Regions from separate parts of the Homo sapiens genome. Here region 2 is linked to region 1. Evidence: promoter capture Hi-C in human tissues and cell types (Jung and others, 2019). All regions are on one chromosome and are shown on one strand. The core of a region is centred on a gene start or on the middle of the fragment in contact, and the rest is flanking DNA. Distances in the headings are between cores, read along the strand shown. Region 1 holds the start of SIVA1 (SIVA1 apoptosis inducing factor). Region 2 overlaps KLC1 (kinesin light chain 1).

Evidence for each region. Contacts are between HindIII fragments. The study calls those that stand out against the background at their distance.
Region 2: a fragment that was not itself captured here is called in contact with the fragment with the promoter of SIVA1 in region 1 in 1 of the 25 tissues and cell types used here (dorsolateral prefrontal cortex).

The regions. Positions count from the first base shown.
Region 1 is chr14:104,751,387-104,754,512 of GRCh38, forward strand. SIVA1 (SIVA1 apoptosis inducing factor) reads left to right here and starts at 1,761. Exons shown (of 4, transcript NM_006427.4): 1 at 1,761-1,933. The coding sequence starts at 1,816. The region is part of intron 2 of LOC107987209 (a long non-coding RNA gene); the gene reads right to left. RefSeq lists enhancers at 787-876, 1,580-2,081, 1,727-1,776, 1,787-1,856 and a silencer at 1,257-1,626. The HindIII fragment of the contact is 10,762 bases long and covers 1-3,126 here.
Region 2 is chr14:103,693,916-103,697,041 of GRCh38, forward strand. All of the region lies in intron 15 of KLC1 (kinesin light chain 1), which reads left to right. Among named protein-coding and RNA genes, the nearest start is that of XRCC3, 20 kb to the right of the region's middle. The HindIII fragment of the contact is 3,456 bases long and covers 1-3,126 here.

The sequences.
Region 1 (3,126 bases), core at 511-3,010:
GTGTATTTACAATCCCTTAGCTTGACATAAAGGTTCTCCAAGTCGCCGCTAGACTCAGGAGCCCAGCTGGCTTCACCTAGTGGATCCCACACCGGGGCTGCAGGTGGAGCTGCCCGCCAGTCCCGCGCCGTGCGCCCGCACTCCTCAGCCCTTGGGCGGTCGATGGGACCGGGTGCCGCGGAGCAGGGGGCCGCGCAAGAGCCCACGGCAGGGGGGAGACTCAGGCATGGCGGGCTGCAGGTCCTGAGCCCTGCCTCGCGGGGAGGCAGCTGAGGCCCGGTGAGAATTCGAGCGCAGCGCCGGCGGGCCGGCACTGGTGGGGGACCCGGCGCATCCTCCGCAGCTGCTGGCCCGGGTGCTAAGCTCCTCACTGCCTGGGGCCGGTGGCTCCGATTGCGGGGCCCGCCGAGCCCACGCCCACCCGGAACTCACGCTGACCCGCAAGCGCCACGTGCAGCCCGGGTTCCCGCCCGCACCTCTCCCTCCACACCTCCCTGCAAGCTGAGGGAGCCGGCTCCGGCCGCGGCCAGCCCAGAGAGGGGCTCCCACAGTGCAGCGGCGGGCTGAAGGGCCCCTCGAGCGCGGCCAGAGTGGGCGCCGAGAGCGAGCGAGGGCTGCCAGCACGCTGTCATCTCTCACAGGGCGAAGCCCACGCCACAGGACGGGTCGGTTCTGTACCCGCCGGGGCAGGGGAGAGCCGCCTCTGGTGAGCAGAACCCCGGAGAAGGGACGACGCGGGTGCACCTCGCGGCATGGGGACACCAAGTCAGACGAACCCGCTGTGCAAGAACATTTTCCACACAGCGGCGCATACCCCCGCCCGGGGGCGCTCGGCAGCCGCACGCGGCCCTCAGAGCGCAGCCCCCACACGCCTTTACTTCTGGAAGGCGGAGACCGCCACAGTGAGGAGCTAAGCCAGCTGAGGCAACACAGAAAAACCCCCGTTCCTACCCAAAACCAAAAAGCGGGGCGCGGAGGCGCGCGCCTGCGGTCCCAGCTACCGGGGAGGCCGAGAAGGGAGGATCGCCTGAGCCCGGGAGGCGCAAGCTACAGTGAGCCGAGACTGCCACTGCACTCAGTCTGGGTGACAGAGCGAGACCCTGTCTCTAAAGGGGAAAAAAGAGCTAGGAAGAAGCGGGCTGCCTCTTAACTTCGGAGAAGTAAATGAGGAACTATAACCAGTGTCTACCGTTTAGGAACCAAACAAAAGCTGACAGGAATCCCGCCACCGACCCAGCCGCCCCAGACTTTGCCCTGGCCTATCCCGCGCCGCTCCTCAAACTAGACCCGCCCCGACGTCGCCCTGGCCTATCCCACGCCGATCCTCAAACGAGGCCCGCCCCCGATGCACAAGCTCCGCCCTCGTTGCACCGTCCTGACCCTCGGCCTCGCCCCCGCCCCCTGGCTCTTCCCGCGCAGCCGAATGCCGCGACCTGGCTCCCACCCTTCGTCGCTTCGCGCCGCATAGGAACCCCGCCCCTAGTCTCTCCTCCCGCCTATCCTGAGCGGCGCGCGCACAAATCTCTCCCACGGACCCGCCCACCCTGATCCTCAACCTGGCCCCTGGCCTTTCCCGCGGCGTCGAGTCCAGTACACCGACGCACGAGTCCCACCCCCGATCTCTCCCTCGGCCTATCCCGCGCCGCTCCGCGCAGGAGTCCCGCCTCCCACTTCGCCCGCAGCCTATGACGCGCCGCGTCGCTCCCTCTCCTCAAACCCGCTCTCGCCCGCGGATGGGCGCGCAGCTGTGACGTCACGGCGTCGTTGGTAAGGGGCTGGCGGCCGGGGAGCTGCGTAGCTCCCGGCCCCGCGGCCATGCCCAAGCGGAGCTGCCCCTTCGCGGACGTGGCCCCGCTACAGCTCAAGGTCCGCGTGAGCCAGAGGGAGTTGAGCCGCGGCGTGTGCGCCGAGCGCTACTCGCAGGAGGTCTTCGGTGAGTGTCGGGCGGGCTGCCGAGGGTCCGCTGCGTCGGGGCCTGGAACGGGCCGGGCCTCAGCGTCCCCTCTGAGGCCTGAGCGGGGGGCTGGAGGGCCCTGCTTTCTGGCCCCGCGTTCCCGGAAGCTGGGAGGCCGCGGGGACACAAGCTGGCCACGCCCAGGGCTGGGGTCAGTGAGGGGGATGTGAGGACCCCAGCGTTCGCCCACCCTGTCCAACAGCCTGAAAGAAAAGGGTCCCTGCCCCTAGCCCCCGCGCCCTCTTCCACGATCCCGGTTAGTCGCCGCCCTGCAGTGAGCGGCACCCGCCTGGTGCTTTCTCAGGACTGTCCCGTGCAGGATGTCCTGGGAGAGGTTGGGGAGCGGGGCGTCCTGCATGGAGTCAACCCGAAGAGTGCCCCTCCTGTCCCAAGAGGTATTCATGGAGCGCGCGGCCCTGCCAGGCACGGCGGCTTTCTCGGGAGACCAAAGGCAGGCAAGACAGATGTGCCCCGTCTCCCGGGAGCTCCCCAGCCTAGTTGGGGAGACCAGCAGGAGGAGTCGCCACAGGTGGTCGGGGCAGGCACAGGTTTGTGCAGGCGCACCTGCAGGGATGGCACGGAAGGCTTCTTGGAAGAACAGTCTGAGCGGAATCCTGTGGGGGCGAGTAGGAGTTAGCCAGGCAGAGGAAGGGAAGGAAGAGGGCGAGGCAGAAGCCAGGCAGCAGGAGAGCGAAATAGGACTCCGTGTGGCTGCAGTGTCCAGTTCTGGGTGGGATGTGAGGGCAGTGAGCTCCCAGGCCTTCTCTGGCTTTCTCCTGTGGATTTCAGGCGTGTTGATCTTATTGATCATCACTCTGACTGGGGTGATTAATACCCTGGGGCAGGTAAAAAGTGGAGCTTACCTTGCCTAGTGATTGGGACACAAAGTCTGCACCTGTAGAGCAGTTAGAGGATGACCCGGGGTGTGTGATTTACCTGGTGCCGCTTGTGCCTTGGGAATGAGGGAAAGACTCTGCCTCCCGAGGTTCCTCTGTGCGGTGTCTCCAGTGTGCTAGGGCTGTGAAAGCGAGTGCTATTCTGGGCCATGGGGAGGTAAGGGGAATGATGCCGTGGGAACTGTGGCAGGACCGCAATCGTGTGCCCTCTCAGGACAGTTGAAAAATTCAAACACTGTGCAGGCAAGAAGAGGAAGATGGAAATGGGGCCTGGCT
Region 2 (3,126 bases), core at 229-2,728, 1.1 Mb before region 1:
CTCACGGATGCTGTTGCATTTCCTGCCTGCCACCTTTTTGCCATGACACCAGACTCTCTTTTAAATTGTAATATTGTAATAAGGCTGTAAATTAAGAATCTGGAAACATAAAGTACCCCTTTCAGAACGATAGGCATTTAGTGATCTATGGCAGTAAAGCCTGAAGCTTAGCGGACACTGGTCAGTGGGAAGTGAATTCCTTCCCAGCTGGAGCATCTTCCGGGTCTCTCTTTCCAAGGTCCCCATGCCTGTGGCCCTGGGGCCCCATGCCCCCTTTTGAGCTGTGTTCTCCCGGACGCCCCTGCACACGAAGCCCATAGAGACGTGTGTTTCACTTTTTTTTTTTTTTTTTTTGAGACGGAGTCTAACTCTGTTGCCCAGGCTGGAGCGCAGTGGCCCAATCTCGGCCCACTGCAAGCTCCACCTCCTGGGTTCACGCCATTCTCCTGCCTCAGCCTCCCGAGTAGCTGGGACTACAGGCACCCGCCAGGCGGATCACAAGGTCAGGAGATCGAGACCATCCTGGCTAACATGGCGTTTCACTTTTTAAAAGCTTAAGCTTTATGGAATGAGGGAGCACGGTGGACTCTGACAGGAACCTTTTCAAATCAATGCTGAGGCTGTATTTCTTAGCCGTCCACAAACTAGTCCATAGGTAAAGAGCATACAAAACAGACGCCGAGGTGATCAGTGATTCCAAAGGCTGACGCTCAGCAGCGCCACCTCCATGCCAGCCAACTAGGCTACGGGATGGAGGGGCGGTCTGTGAAACACCAGCCATCCCGTGAAAGCTCAGCTTGCCACTGTCATGTAACAGGGTGGGTGGTGGCACAGCAGAGGCTCACACTTGTCACCTTCAGCCTCTAGAAGCTCCCCGTGGGGCACGAAGGCTGGGGACAGAGTGTCCTGAGGTTTTGTTACAAGGCTAGACTTTAAAATACCTTTCAAAGTTTCATCCCGCCTCATGTCGCAGGACTGCTGTGTTTGTGAAAGCGCGTTTGTTTCCACAAGACAAGCTCCGTGTAGTCGCCAGCGGGTGCCTGGCCCAGGAGCTGCCCTGTGGAGCCAGCGTTGTCCCCGAGCTGCTCGCCTGTGGCCGTGGCTCCTTTTCTGAGGCTCCTGACTCCATTCTTGCAGATTCTGGTGGATCAGGAGCTTACATTCTAAATGCTACATAGAGGTGTTGAAGAAAATTTCATAGGTTCTGTAATAGTGGATGGGATTAAAAGAAAAAATGTTAAATTATATATATATATATGGCTGGGTGCGGTGGTTCATGCCAGTAATCCTATAATCTTAGCACTTTGGGAGGCTGAGGCGGGAGGATCACTTGAGCCCAGTTCAAGAACAGCTTGGGCAACACAGCGAGTCCCTGTGTCTAGCAAAAAAAACCATGTGTATATATATATATATGTGTGTGTGTGTATATATATATATATATATATACATACATATATATACATATATAATTTGATGGGTTGTGAGAAGCCAACCCCCCCCAAAAAAAGGGGGGTGTAGAGCAGCTTCCCCTGACAGGTGCCGTGGCTGCCCCCGTAGTGGGCTATGTCTGTGCACAGGCGACAGGGAGGAGGGCTCCGGAGCTTCCCTTGTGGTGGGGGTGCCTTCTCCCTGTGAGGATGCTGAGCAGAGTTTGGAACCCAGACAGTTTCCCTTAGTGACAGTTATCTGGAAAGGAAAAAGGGCATTTAGAAGGAATAAACATAGGGCTGAATATGGAGTTGAATTTTAACCTCTTCAGACTGATGGGTGCAGACGAGGTTGTGTGGGGCCTCTGTGGAGCCTGCTGTGGCTTCCAGCCATGGGACTTTAGGGCCGAGGTGGCCTCTGCAGCACTGTGGCTGTGGGAGCACTGTGTGTTGGGGTAAGAGAAGCCAGGGGGCCTCCCTGAAGCCAGCTCATAAAGGAAGGTTCGTGTTTCAGAGGGAGGCGGCAAGGGAATCTGAGTACCTGAGTCCCCGATGTTTGAACCCTTCCACCCAATAGAAGTGCGGTGATTTCAGCCATTTCCCATCTGGCGGTCTGAATTTTTCCCTTCAGAGGAGAGAAGTGGTGGGCCCAGGCATCCCTCCTCCTGTGTGTGGTCGTTCTGGTGAGAGGAACCCCACGCGAGAGTCAGCACCTGTTTCTTCAGAGTTGCTGTCAAAATAATCACTGCGCCCCCGCCCCCCGCCCCCCCCCACAGCAGCCGTGTGTGCAGCGCCCGTCCCCAGCAACCATGGCATGGGAGCGTCTGGATCTGTGGGCGGACAGCATATCTCTGGGTAGTTGGTGCAGCTGTGGCAGAAATCAGGCCCCTGGGGAAGTCCTGTGACATGGATGCTTCCCTGAAGCAGCAGCAGTGTGTGGCTCAGGGGTCCTCAGAGGCCGGTGGTGCCCGCGGGTGGCACGGGGCACTCTCATGGGCAGCACTTGGTCTTGTGTTTACAGTATTGGAGGGATTCACATCGTTGTTTTCTGGATTAAGCTGCTAGGAGTATCATGTACTTAGAAATTCAGTGTTTATAGTAAGATGTATTAAACATTGCTAATGATGTATCGTTACAATGTATAACAGGTTTTCCATTGTCATAACTGTATGGAATTTTCTTGGAGGATGTCATTAGCTTCTGTTTGCACTGACTTGTGAGCTGTGTGTACGCTGTGGTCAGATTTCTGAATGCTGTAGAGCACTTACCAGCTCTGACCGTGTCTTGCTGGGGCCAGCAGGCTGCGTGTGCAGCGGGGCCAGCTGTCTCAGGGCTGATATGTAGACGTGTATTCTGTTTACAATTAGTTCCCCAACTCTGTGGGGAAGAACTTAAGCGGTTTTAGTGTTTTATAATATGGTGAGGCAATGAGGGTCAGGGCGCGTGGTCCCTGAGGGAGGGTCTTCAGGGCAAGACCCATGGCCCTGGCCTGGAACTGTGCTCCCCAGGGCGTGGTGCCTCCCTAAGGGGATGGTCAGTGTTCTGGGACTGACTGCCAGGCCAGCCCGTCTGCAGACTCCTGTGGTGGGAGTTCCCTGGGACGGGAAGCCCCTCGGCCCCTTCCCTCCAGGGGCAGGAACTGAGCCAGCATGGGCGGGGCCGGCCGAGCTTCCAGGCGTGTTTTCTCTGTTAAATGTAC